Regions from separate parts of the Homo sapiens genome. Here region 2 is linked to region 1. Evidence: promoter capture Hi-C in 16 types of primary human blood cells and fetal thymus (Javierre and others, 2016). All regions are on one chromosome and are shown on one strand. The core of a region is centred on a gene start or on the middle of the fragment in contact, and the rest is flanking DNA. Distances in the headings are between cores, read along the strand shown.

Region 1 (6,493 bases), core at 593-3,092:
CTGGTTTTTAAAAAATTTTTTTGAGACGGAATCTCCCTCTATCGCCCAGGCCTGAGTGCAATGGCACAATCTCGGCTCTCTGCAACCTCCGCCTCCTGGGTTCACGCGATTCTTCTGCCTCAGCCTCCCAAGTAGCTGGGACTACAGGTGCACGCCACCACACCGGCTAATTTTTGTATTCTTAGTAGAGACGGGGTTTCACCATACTGGCCAGGCTGGTTGCAAACTCCTGACCTCGTGATCCCGCCGCCTCTGCCTTCCAAAGTGCTGGGATTACAGGCGTGAGCCACCGCTCCCGGCCGTTGGCTGGTATTTAATTAGGTATGTTTAGCTTCATCTAGGGTTTCTTTAAAAAAAATTATTATTTATTTTTGAGAATTTTTTTGAGACGGAGTCTTGCTCTGTCGCCCAGGCTGGAGTGCAGTGGCCGTGATATTGGCTCACTGCAACCTCTGTCTCCCGGGTTCAAGCGATTCTCCCGCCTCAGCCTCTCGAGTGGCTGGGACTATAGGCGTGCGCCACCACGCCTGGCTAATTTTTGTATTTTTAGTAGAGATAGGGCTTCACCATGTTGGCCAGGCTGGTCTGAACTCTTGACTTCAAGTGATCCGCCCGCCTCAGCCTCCCAAAGTGGTGGGATTACAGGCGTGAGCCACCGCGCCCGGCTGCTTCAGCCAGGGTTTCTTTTCCTTATTCTTGATCCTTTTAAAATAGTCAATATCAGCCTCTTTTCCATCCTGATCATTTTCATTTGCAATTTCCTCTACACGGCATTTCTTTTCTTCCTCTTAATACTTACTCTGTATCACCAGTCTTCTGTGGACCAAAACCAAAGGGAGAAGGTGTTCGCTAGCCCTAAAACCAGGCCTTCGATCTCCACAGTCACCTGAAATGAGAAAAATCTCATTTCCCAACACCAGGGGGTGTCTATCCCTCTAACTGTCCTACCCTTAAGGTAGAGATTAGTCCCAAACCTTTTCCTCACTCCTTTTCACTGCTTCTACATACACACTATATCTCTTTCCCTCCCTCTCAAAGTAGAGATTAGTCCCATTTTCCTGACTCCTTTTCACTGCTTTTACAAATCACAAAACTTTTGGGTCCAGAAGGTGGTGCCTTTTTATTGCAGTTTATCTGTTTGTCTCTCATTCTCTCTGGACAAGCTTGTCCTTTCCTTTGTCTGCGCACCCTTCGGTCTCTGCATCGTCCACACTCCTCTTTGCTCCTCAGCTCTCCCTTTCTTTCGCTACCTCTTCCCTCTTCCACCTCTCTCTGTGGGCTTCGTCGCCTTTCAGGGCTATCTTTACGTACACGTCTCTGAACCTCTTTATGCATTTGTCTTCTTTCTCTCTGTCTTCCTCTTTATGGCTCTCTCCTTGTCTCACCATTTCTGTACCAGTCTCTCTCCATCTCTCCCACAGTCCCCACGCTGGGAACAAAGTCACGGTGCTAGCGCAGAACATGCCTCCTGTCGTCCGGTCCCGGGACGCGACACATTCCACCATGCCCCTCCGCGCATTCCAACTGCAGACAAAGAGTCCCCGTCCCCTACCCCCACACTCTTTCCTATTCCAATTCTTCAGTGTTGTAGGGGCAGCTGCCCCAACTGCCCCTGCCCGCCTCTCACGTCCAGTCCGCGGGTCTCCACATCCAGGGCAGTTAGCGCCTTCCGCTGCACGCACACCAGCTATCCCTGCGCGGACACCCCCGGCGCTCTCGCACACACCGCGCTCCGCCCCCCTAGGAAAGTAGATCCGGCCAGGCAGACAAAAGTTTGGGAGAGAAGTTCGGTCTGTGGCTAGCGTGAGAGCTAGGGGGGCGGGGGCCGGGGAGAGTGGGGCAGTCGGGCGAGTCGACGCGTGAACAGATAGACCTGCGGACTGGACAGCCGCGGCCAGAGACCCTGCTAGCCCCGCTCAGCCCCAGATGCGCGGGGGGACGCAGCCCCTCCCGCTGGGGGATGCTGTGGGATTCCTGGCGCAGGGCATCCAGGCCGCCCGCTAAGCCCCTGTGCCTCCCCTGTGCCCCTGGGGAACCAGAGTCCGGCTGCAGGGAAAGAGAACCGGCCGCCGAGACGCCGCAGGGTGCCAGGCGGGGAGGGGGCGAGAGGCCCCAGGCCCGAGGGCATGGAGCGGTTAGGAGAGAAAGCCAGTCGCCTGCTGGAGAAGTTCGGCCGCAGAAAGGGTGAATCTAGCCGGTCTGGGTCTGACGGGACCCCCGGGCCGGGCAAGGGGCGCCTAAGTGGGTTGGGGGGACCTAGGAAGTCAGGGCCCCGAGGAGCTACTGGGGGACCTGGGGATGAGCCGTTGGAGCCGGCCCGGGAGCAAGGTTCCCTGGACGCTGAGCGAAATCAGCGCGGCTCCTTTGAGGCGCCGCGCTACGAAGGCTCTTTTCCCGCGGGGCCGCCGCCCACCCGGGCCTTGCCTCTACCTCAGTCGTTGCCCCCCGATTTTCGGCTGGAGCCCACGGCCCCGGCCCTCAGCCCCCGCTCTAGCTTCGCCAGTAGCTCGGCCAGCGACGCGAGCAAGCCGTCCAGCCCCCGGGGCAGCCTGCTGCTGGACGGGGCGGGGGCTGGCGGAGCTGGAGGTAGCCGGCCCTGCAGCAATCGCACCAGCGGCATCAGCATGGGCTACGACCAGCGCCACGGGAGCCCCTTGCCAGCGGGGCCGTGCCTGTTTGGCCCACCCCTGGCCGGAGCACCGGCAGGCTATTCTCCCGGAGGGGTCCCGTCCGCCTACCCGGAGCTCCACGCCGCCCTGGACCGATTGTACGCTCAGCGGCCCGCGGGGTTCGGCTGCCAGGAAAGCCGCCACTCGTATCCCCCGGCCCTGGGCAGCCCTGGAGCTCTAGCCGGGGCCGGAGTGGGAGCGGCGGGGCCCTTGGAGAGACGGGGGGCGCAACCCGGACGACACTCTGTGACCGGCTACGGGGACTGCGCCGTGGGCGCCCGGTACCAGGACGAGCTAACAGCTTTGCTTCGCCTGACGGTGGGCACCGGTGGGCGAGAAGCCGGAGCCCGCGGAGAACCCTCGGGGATTGAGCCGTCGGGTCTGGAGGAGCCACCAGGTCCTTTCGTTCCGGAGGCCGCCCGGGCCCGGATGCGGGAGCCAGAGGCCAGGGAGGACTACTTCGGTGAGTGAGAGAAGTGGTTAGGGACGGGAAGGGACCCGTCACGGTATTCGGTTCTCCACTGCCCCGACGGCCCAAAGTGCCGGTGCCCCGGGGTCCGAGGTGAAGACGCGGGACTAGGAAAGAAGCAAGAGGGATGGATGGGGGCGGCCCCAGAGCACTGTCCCCTTCCTGCTAGTTTTCAGATGAACCAGGGCTCCTTATTTCTGCTAAATTCAACCCCCCTGGTATCTCGTGAGTCCGTTTCTCAAGCATTTGAACCTCGGTTTTTTGCGGCAGGAGGCCTCGTAGGGAAGGGACCAAGTGGGGCAGTGAAGGCGCATCCCCCCCAACTTGCTCCCCCCTTTCACGGCGGTGCCCCTGGAGGTTTGTGCGCGCCGCGCCCCCACCCGGGCCCAGGCTCCGCCCGCAGGAATTCGGAGAATGCGCGGGTGGGGGGGCGGGGCAGGCTGGCCGCGTGCGTGCCGACTCCTGCCCGGGCGCTCCAGGTGCCCGCGGGCGGGGCGGCTGCCGCCGCGCGGCGGAGGGGTGGGGTTCGGGGATCGGGGGACGCTCCCTAGCATACGCGGAGTAGTGGCGGCTGTCGGGGAAATGGAGCCTGGGAGACAGGATGGAGCGCCCTGGGACCCAACTGCTGTCCCTCCCCAGTCCTGTTGGCTAGGTGCGTGCGTGGGCATTTAATCAGAGACCCAGTAGTACCAGCTTCTATTTTCCCCATCCTCCGGAAGTCAGGGTAAAAGTCATGACTACTGGGACACCATTACCTCTGGATGGATAACGACCCTGTGTTATTGCCAGAAATAACTTGGCCTTGAATTCTGCTTATAACCTCTCAGAATTCAGGCCAGAAGTAGCGCCTTACTTCCTGACACTGTTAAGGAAACCTGGTCGCTGTCTCCCTCCCCTACTCTGTTCAGGAAGTATTGATTGATTATATGTCTCAGCTATGAGGAACATTAGGGTCTTGAAAGATCTTTTAGTCAAAATTCACAGGCACTGCTACACACATAAAAAACTTCGAATCTGATTGTGATTGGAAAGAAGTGGCAGGCTTACCGCCTAAGGGCTGTGGGCCTCTTTCACTTTTCTAAGCATCTCTTCTTACCACTCATGCCCCACTCCTGGACCCCATGCTGTAGAACTCTATGGCTAGAAAAGTGAATAGGAAGAGGAACGCGGCCAGGGAGGGATGGTTGGGTAGGAGGTTCAGAGGTAGCAGGGCGGCAGGCTATAAGGGCATAACTCAACCCCCAGCCTCCACCCCCATTCTTTTCCCCACCTCCAAATCCACCGAGAGGAAAGCCCAGAGGAGATGATGCCAAACCGCTTTGATCAAGGAAGACTGAATGACAGGGCCCATTTAGCAGTTTCATTTTGAGGCCCAGGAGAGGTGGCTAGTAAAGAAGTCTTTTTGGCTGAACCATCAGAGCCAAAAGGAAGAAAGGAACTCAGAGAAACTGCAATAAAATGGCAGGAAGAACATAGGTATAGATATGCTGGGTTAGAGGAGGTGAGGCCAACGTGCCTGAGCAGTTTCGTTTGCTTTTCCCATAACGTCCAAGGTTTCCTAAAGAATGGCTCCGACAGGACCCCCTGGCATGGCAATCTTGGGGCAGATCTTCACTTCCATGAGGAAGCCACATTTTGAATTCAGAGATGGGGGCCCCTTCTCCTTGGGAGTCAGGTTGCCTCCTTTGACAGAACCCCTACATACCCCTTGTGCCGCTAGCCCCAGCTTGACTGTACCCTCCTCCTGCCCCTAGTAGGGGCCCTCTTCCTTGGCTTCAGCCTTGCCCAGCTGCCAGAGGGTGGGAGCAGGACAGGCCTGGGCCCATCAGTTGCTGCAGCTGCTGCACAGGCTCCCAAGCCCCTGGGCAAAGACTGGGATGGGCCCCAACAGGCAGGGAGTGTGGCAGCGTGCCGAGGGGGAGAGGTGGGGCAGGCCCGTTGGGATCTGCTCCCCAAAGACAGGCCCTAGCCCTCACTCATGGGCCTGGAATTGGGGAGTGGAGGGAGGGAAGAACACACCCAGGAAAGGCAAGTCCCAGAGCCAGGTGTATATATCTTAGTGGGGGATTTTGGGGAATAGCAAGCAGTTCAGTTCTGTATTCTTCCCATGATAGAAGGTGACTAGGAGGCATCAGGGGCTCTGCTACTCTCCCTGCTTTCCTGTTCAACCCTGGTTCCTGGAACACACCCTGCATTCTCAGCAGCCACCTCCCCACAGGAATCATGCTCACATGGTCCCCTCTGCACGGAGCCCTCTGCCAAGCCAGATCCTTTTCTCCATCCTTGGAAGTCTGCAGTGGAGAGAAATCATTCTATAACTGAACAGCTCGTTTGACTGATGGGAAACTGAAGTCCCAGAGACGATTTCTGGGCCTAGCCTGCTTTCTCTAGAAAGTATTTTCAAGTCTGCTGCTGAGCACCTGTGGACTGGCATCTTTGACCGTTCATCCTACACACTGCAACAGAGATCATACCTTGCCTGTGTAGTCTTTTCTCCCCAACAGAAACTAAGCATCTGAATGCCAGGGACCATATCTTCGACTTTCTCCAGGTTTCCTTAGGTAGTGGTGCTGTGTTAAGCACAAAACAGATGCTCAGAAAATATCTGTTGAGTAATTAAATAAACAAGAATGGATCTGCTCAGCCAAGATCTTGCTGCATCTCATTACTCGTTATCTTCTCTACTCAGAAGGGAGCCCATCAAAGGGAGACTGTGACCCCTGGCACATCAGGAAAGGGCAGTCAGGAAAGCTTGGGAATCCCTGGTTTTGACCTGGGGGAGTAGAGTGTGACACTTTTCTCTTCTCAGGCACCTGTATCAAGTGCAACAAAGGCATCTATGGGCAGAGCAATGCCTGCCAGGCCCTGGACAGCCTCTACCACACCCAGTGCTTTGTTTGCTGCTCTTGTGGTGAGTGTAGCCCCAATACTCAAGCACTCCCCTCCCCTGCCCACATACACACTTACAAGTGCTATGGGGAACAGGAGGAGAGCTTGTGCCTCTTCATTTGCTCACAGAGCAGCTGTTGGATCCCCACCAAGTGTCTGGAGGTCCGCAGCTGCTCTGCCTCTCTTGCTTCCCTGTCTGTCCTCTACTTGGCTCTCCCTCCGCCTGGTGGGTCCCCTTTCTGGAGTCCCTCCTTCCTTCCTCACCTCTGTTTCTCCCTCTCGTGCTTCCCTGCTTGCCCATCCTGGACTTGCCTGGCCCTCCAGCTTCTTGGTGGGGCTTGGTCTTGGGCAGCCAAGTTGCCTGGGGCGACAGTGAAAGACTGGAATGTGGGGAGGGTGGGGGCAGGCTGGGGGAGTGGGGAGCTGTTTGGGGCGGAGAGGGGGGTTTTCTCTTGGCTGGTCAGAG
Region 2 (6,941 bases), core at 3,171-5,670, 500 kb after region 1:
CCACTTGTTACAAAGGGTTAAAGTTTTAGCTTGCTTACTATCATGAAAAGGGTGAGAGAAAAAGGCTATTATTTAGCTAAGAAGACGTATCCATTTTTTTTAAGGACAGCAGTCAGGGATTCAAACGACCCTTCCCATCTCTTCACTATTTCACAGTATTCACTGTCTAAAGGGCTTCCCACCCTCTCTTCAGCCTCCGCAGGACATAAGCAAAACCAGATGCCTGCCCTCAGCTGAGGTCCTCAAACAGACAGGCACCCAAAGTGTTGCTGTGGCAATAATCTCTGTGTTCCACTTACTGCAGGAAAACAGAATTTAATCATGGGTTCCTTGGACTCCAGCCTTGCCATATAGTTCCTGCAGCTAGAATCCACTGCATGGAAAATCTGGCATACGATTACTGTCCAGAGCTCTGGAAGAATGCTAGCCTTGCACAGATATTTTCTTTGCCTGGTTAGGCTGTCAAACACCCTGACCTCGTCAATGTTTTAAAAGGTAGGAGTTGTTACAGTTCTCAGTCCCCTAAGAGGCTGACCAAGTGCTGAGAGGGGCTCCCAGCTTCTCTGCATTCTGGAAAACCCACCGCAGAGCCCCGCCCTAGTGTGCTTCCGGTAAGAAACCAAAGAAAAAAGCCTACTGTCTGGTCCCTAGCATTGGCTGCCCACCCTCTGAAAAGCGACTGAGTCCTTGAGTCTCCTGGGATGTTCATATGAATCCCCTTGAAGCTTTAATTTGATAAGACCTCAGTGGAGACTGCTGAACCCCTGGGATTTAACATCATATATTATTCATTGTTGCTGTTGCCACAGACGTGCTGATTTTGCCCCTGCTGAGCAAGGCACTTCTGCACATGGGAACTTGATGGCTAACCACACTGCATGTTCTTCAGGCAGGGCCTATCCCAGAACGTTCCAAGCTGTCTGCTAGCAAGTCTGCATTAACTCCCTCAATGCTGCATGCACGGTGTCCCTGAGTCCTTCACCACCCGCCCCGCCACCAGAGCCAGTCTTTTTAAGAATTTTGCCTGGGCTGTGTTTTTCAAAGTGCCTCTCTCTAGTGTGCATCTCTTCTTAATCACAGAAAGCAGATCTGAGTAAGTAAAACTGGGGCATTTGGCCTTTACTCAACATCAGGGCACTTAGGAGACCGGGGCCCTTTGATAAGTTTTTCCCATTTTCATTTTATCTGAATTTTACAAGTCAGTCTTCTCCAGCCTTAGTTTATAAGCACCACTTTCAGAAGTCCACCAGCAGCGCAGATTTTCAAGAAGTGCCATTAGCAACCACTGTGCCTTACTTTTATATCTAACATTTAAAAACTTTTCTAAGTACTCACACATTACCATTAGGGAAGGGTGGGTGTATATTTGAAGGAGAGAATGTACTGCTCTATTCTCACGACTCAGAGGACAGATGAATTTTCCCCTTCTCAGGTGAACTAAGTAAAGTGGAGGCTGAATCCACTATTTTGGTAACCAAAGAAAAAGTGGGGTTAAATGCTCTGCCTGAGTTAACCAGACAGTTAACTGACTGGACCTCAGTTACCAGACTGGGGATTGAGAACAGTTCTTTTCAGAGAGGTAAAGTGAAGGTAAAAGAAGAAAAGGAGCCTGCTTATAGAATTTTCAGCATTAGTTAATGAAGTTGCAGGGTTCCATTATTTCAGGCGATAAATTTAAGAGGAGTGTTAGTATCTAAGTCAGGACAATTTATATTTGGTCTACTGCATTTGCGTAGTCACGATATGCCAATTTCCTCTTTATCTTTTCGGCAAACATTTCCTGACCCTTAGCTGGATCCCTCAGGATTCTGTATTCAGTTTTTCTCCTTGCACCAATAATCTTGTTTAAGATGAATGATAGGAATGTTTTGGGCTGAAAGTAATTTAGTCTTTGTACAGTGGAGTTCTAATCCCTCTGATGGGCACCATATCCCCCCAGCACAAACATTAGATTTGGAACCTAAGCTGGAATGTTTTGGAGGGGCAAGTAATTAAATCAGAAGTGTTTGAATTCCCCCTTCCCCCACTCCCTTCAAACTTACTTGGATTCACGGTTAAGAGAGTTCCTTTTCCAAATGTCAGTTTATAGTTGCTACCTCCACTATTCTCACAGCCACAGAAGGCTTTACAGAAACAGGAACAGAAGCTGCTCTTTGCAGAAGGGTCCTGGGGGTCAATATAGTCACGATTGCTCAACTCTTCATTAAGCTACAGGTTTATAGGTTATTTGATAATAAGTCCAGAATGCAGCTGCTGTAGGTGAGTGCTGGAGTTCCAGAGGACAATATATCATATATATATAGATATATATATATGTATATATCTTTAAAGTTTTTGAAATTTAATTTTAATTTTTTTTTATCATTTTCTTTGTGACTAAGCTGCCATCATGGTTCCAGTAATCCATTTCTTTCTTTTTTTTTCTTTCCTAATTATCTTCCCTTGGCTGGTACTCAGATAGTTTCTACTTTTTGCACTTGTTGGGGTAACTATTTCTCTGCTTTTTTTTTCGTTGAAATTGCATATCAATTCACCGGATTCTGATTTACTAGAAACTGATTGTAGAAGGGGAGGGAAGCGAGACAGTTTTTACAGGGAGGTGTTTAAAAGTGGAAATTTGAGGGCTTTCCTGTCTTTCCTGGTCTGCTTCTCTACAAAGGACAATGCAAAATGAGTATACGTCCCTCAAGGAGAGCTTGCAGGACACGGTCTAGAAAGGAAAAGACTGTACTCAGCTGCATGTAGCTTCACCCTGTCATACTTACTTGGGTTGATAGTCAGCCTGGTTCCTTGGCCAAATACCAGCTTCTGGGCTCCCTGAATTACACCACAGCACGAGGCTTTACAGAAACTGCCAGCGAGGGCCCACCTCTCCCCACTGAGGAAGACATATGATCTGCCCTCCTAGCAGTCCAGGGCTGTGGCAGAGAATGGCCCGAATTTCACTGGCCAGAGAAGTTTAGGACAGGATCTCCTTGGGCTGCTCATTTTCTCTTTCACAAAGCCTCCTTTAGCAGTTGTAGACATGGTCCAGATTTTCCAGTTGCCTTGCCAATCAAATATTTAACATCTTTGTTTTCACCCCACAGAATTTTAATTTTTTTTTAAAACATTTCTTTCATCTTTTACAGAGCTCTCCCTAAAAACAGCTGGATTAAAAGAATCTTTAAAGTCAGAGTCTACTAGGTCTCCCGAGTAAAGTTAATCTGGCTTCCTCCTTAAAATTTCCGGTTTGAATGCGAGGGCCTGCTCATCTGGGACCTAATTTGTCGTGCTAAGACAGGAAAGGTGAAAAGGCAATGCAGAAAATCCAGGGGAAATCCTGCACTGTGAGATCTTCTTGTCCCTCCACACTTACTTGGATTTATTTTTGTACTCATCCCCTTTCCCCAACAGGAGCATTACCAGCACTTGTCACTAACAGGGATCCATCCTCCAAATCAACTCTAGAGACTCCCACCCACAGGAATTTTAGTGTGGAAACAGACATGGTTTCTTCCTCTGCTCAGGGAAATTTAATTGAAAAACCATTTCTAATTTTGCCAAATGGAAAGGATTAGGAGAAAATCTGTTTGCCTCTGTTCTCCTTCCTCCTCCCCCTTCGTCTTCAACAGTTTTAAACTATTTATAGAAACATCCCTTTAGGGTTAGAGAAATGTGGCAAATTTCTAATCTCTTCATCCTTTTTCTTGCTATCTATTTACCGCAGTCATGTATTTACAATCTAAATTTACATTTCATTTCCATTTGCAGGAGCTTCTAATGCACTTCTCTATTACTTCAAGAACACTGTGTATAATAATAAACTCTACAGAAATAAACCAAATCACAAGAAGCTTTCAGGTCTGGAGGCTGACATTTCTCAAGACAGGTATGGGGCAAACAACTTATTTCTCTTCCAGGCAAGACTAAGATAGGGGCAGCCCAGTCAACTGAGCAACTAGGCTTGCAGGGTGGACATGTTATGTCTAAATAACTATCTATTGAGCCTTGCTCCTTGGGATTAATTTGGATTTTCTTTTTAATCTAGTTCCCAAATACCAGCTTCCCATCTTTTAGCTCTTAGAATCTCTCTGACAGGGAAAGCTTAAGTTAAATCTCATGGGGTTTTTGAATCTCAACAAATATTTCACCTCAGTACACATCACAAATAGAGGCAACAAAAGAAGGATGAATATAACACCTTTGGGAGAGAATTTATAACAGTTCTTTGGGAAAGATGGGAATTATAAGAAAAAGTAGAATTGTGTGTGCTTTTCCTGATTATCATTTTTAGTATCTGCAGGACTGTAAATGTCCAGTCCAGTTTGGAAATGGAGCAGCTGACTCACCTGCTCTTTAGACCTTTGTTAACCAGTGAACACACAGGTTAGCGTGGAAATGCTTTTCTCTCTTATGCTGTTTTAGGCATAAGAAACTTTAGGAAGGTCGCATGGGGTTCACATAATACATACTAGGACATTCTGATTCTAGCCATTCTAATGGGGATAATAATTTGGTCATAAAAGTAGTTTTATTTTAAGATACTCATTGAATAGTTGGTATCTTTTGGGAATTATGAGCAAAAGTTAAATCCCAAACAATTGTTTGAAATGAGCTTGCATTATCATAGAAAGCAGAGATTCCCTCATGGAACAAAATTTCAGCTACATTCAAGTTAACTGAAATTAGGTTTGTTTTGAGAATGGTGGAGCAATACTCAAAATATTCCCCCAAGTATTGCATTTGGATTAGGGAATCCTTCTCTAAGCTTAGTTGCCACCTTTTCAATGAGGGACTCAGAAGTGAGTGGGTATCAAAAGGGGCTTCTCTGGTGCAGAAAGCTCAGACAAGGCAGAGATGAAAATGTTCCATGAGGACCCAATTAGAAATGCAGCAGTTAACAGCACCCTGGGGCTTGTTTTCAGAAGTTCGTGGTCTTTCTGACTAATTTGAATATTTGCTTTCAATCTTAACTTTTCCCTAAATATCAGCTTGTAGTCAGTGTCAGTACCAGAAAATCTTACACGGCTTTACCCAATTTAGCTTGGCTCCAAGATTTTGAGTTATGGGGATTAGACAATTCTTTTCCTAATTGCACCAACATGGAAGCTTTGGGAAGACAAGTCAGCTGACACGGAGTGCTGGCTCAGTTGTTTAATCAGCAGGCTACATCTCACTGTTTCCTTTTGGATTGGGTTGCATTGCATACTCCCAGCCATTGGTATGTATTTTAGTCTAATCTGTCCTTCTTTTGTCCTTTCTAAATGCTTTCTGCCCCTACACACTAAAACTTCAATTCAGATTCCATTTGTCAGACACATATCTCCAACATTAACAAAAACACACTGAACATTCCCAAGTACTTAAAGGTGTTAAAGAAACAGTCCCAAAGGGGCTGCAGTCAGGGGCTGCCCACATTGTCATTTTCTCCAGAAAGACCCATGGTGAAAGATGCTAATAACTGGGCAGGAGATTCGGTTATCTTTCACTGAATTTCTAAGGATGGTGGCTTATGTTTGGAAACAAATAACATTCATTAAAACATACCTGGTCTAACACTCAGAGTTATTCCTTTTCCAAATGTCAGCTTACTATTGGCTCCAGTATAACACAATGACACGAGGATCTACAAAAACTCAGTTGCCCAGACTCCCCTTGATATTTACTTAAGTGCTTACTTGTCATCCAAGAATCCCCCTGATAAAACCAGCTGTTTATAGTGTGGGACTGGTGGAAGAGTTTACGGACCACCTGGGGCCTTCCTTTCTCTTCACACTCATTGTCCCCTTATTGGAAATGTACCAACATCCCCTCACAGCACGCCGGCTGTGGTAAAATGGGAACAGGAACTGCCTCCCCCATTCTACAGAGGAGGAAAATAGAGGCTCAGAGAGTTAATCAATTTTCTCTTAGTCCCATGGAAAATCTCACCAATTATAACGAAGAATGAAGCCTTCGAACAGTCTGACTCCTTAACTCAGTGCTCCATTGGTACTGTCATTCTCAGCTATTAGATAAAATAGCACATGAGGGCAAACAACAGAGACCTGCGTGTAGTAGGAATACACCAGCAGTTGTTTTGCACTGGAATCCATTAATGGGACTGCTGTGGTTTGGACCTGGGTTATAAAACAGAATGGAAAATTTGGAAATCAGGGTTCCAGGGAGAAATTTGGAAGCATTATTCAGACTTACATGGGTTTACTGTCAGTTTCGTTCCCTTTCCAAAGACCAGCTTTTCAGATCCGCCCTGAGTTACACCCCCACAGACTGCTTTACAAATACTGCCAAGACCCTTCCATCATGGGCTGGGAGCCAGGGCTCCACCCACTCTCCCAGGGGAAGCATAAAATTATACAATTGTATAGCTATTCCCGAAAAGGGAGGGGACCTATAGAACAAATCTGATTACTTTTTTACCTTACAGCCTGTTAGGTTGTTATCTTATTAATTAAGTAATTAGTTAATCTAACTGGTCAGCAGTTGCAGTTAATTTAAAAGAGCTCAGGCTTTGGGGCAGGTAGGCTTGAGTTTAAAACTCAGGACAAGTTTCCTAACTTGCTACACCTCAGTTTCCTCACTTGTAAAGTGGGGAAAACAGCAACTGCTTGATGATGTTGTAAGGATTAAGAATATGTAACTGGGTCACCGTGGTCCTGTTGACCAACCCCTGGCTTTACTTGCTGAGAGCGCAGTTCTTTAGCGATTATCTTAGCAACCTTAGAGACTAGAGCATCAGGGACATTCCCTCTAGACATAATCCCCTCACTGAAAAGCTTTTAGCTCTGGAATCTGAGTGCCAAGAATTAAACTCCAGGTTCTCTTTCTTACTTCATCGGCTTGAACAAGTTATTCAACATCTCTGTGCTTCTATAGAAATATAAAATATAAATATATCTCTTCTATAAAATGAGGATAATAATAGCACCTAACTCACAGACCTGGTATAAGGATTAAAT

The links. The method cuts DNA at HindIII sites, captures the fragments that hold promoters and counts their contacts. A CHiCAGO score of 5 or more calls a contact.
Region 2: a contact is called between a fragment that was not itself captured here and the fragment with the promoter of AJUBA in region 1, in 1 of 17 cell types (naive B cells). The highest score is 5.2, in naive B cells.

Annotation. Positions count from the first base shown.
Region 1 is chr14:22,977,900-22,984,392 of GRCh38, reverse strand. AJUBA (ajuba LIM protein) reads left to right here and starts at 1,842. Exons shown (of 8, transcript NM_032876.6): 1 at 1,842-3,132; 2 at 5,948-6,049. The coding sequence starts at 2,127. AJUBA-DT (AJUBA divergent transcript) reads right to left here and starts at 69. Exons shown (of 3, transcript XR_007064074.1): 1 at 1-69. LOC124903287 (a long non-coding RNA gene) reads right to left here. Exons shown (of 2, transcript XR_007064076.1): 1 at 6,292-6,493; 2 at 5,172-5,743. RefSeq lists enhancers at 862-1,827, 1,828-2,793, 6,399-6,493. The HindIII fragment of the contact is 4,726 bases long and covers 1,166-5,891 here.
Region 2 is chr14:22,478,171-22,485,111 of GRCh38, reverse strand. TRD-AS1 (TRD antisense RNA 1) reads left to right here and starts at 2,153. Exons shown (of 5, transcript NR_148361.1): 1 at 2,153-2,259; 2 at 3,754-3,871. It also overlaps TRA, TRAJ57, TRAJ56, the pseudogene TRAJ55, TRAJ54 and TRAJ53. RefSeq lists a silencer at 230-279. The HindIII fragment of the contact is 664 bases long and covers 4,089-4,752 here.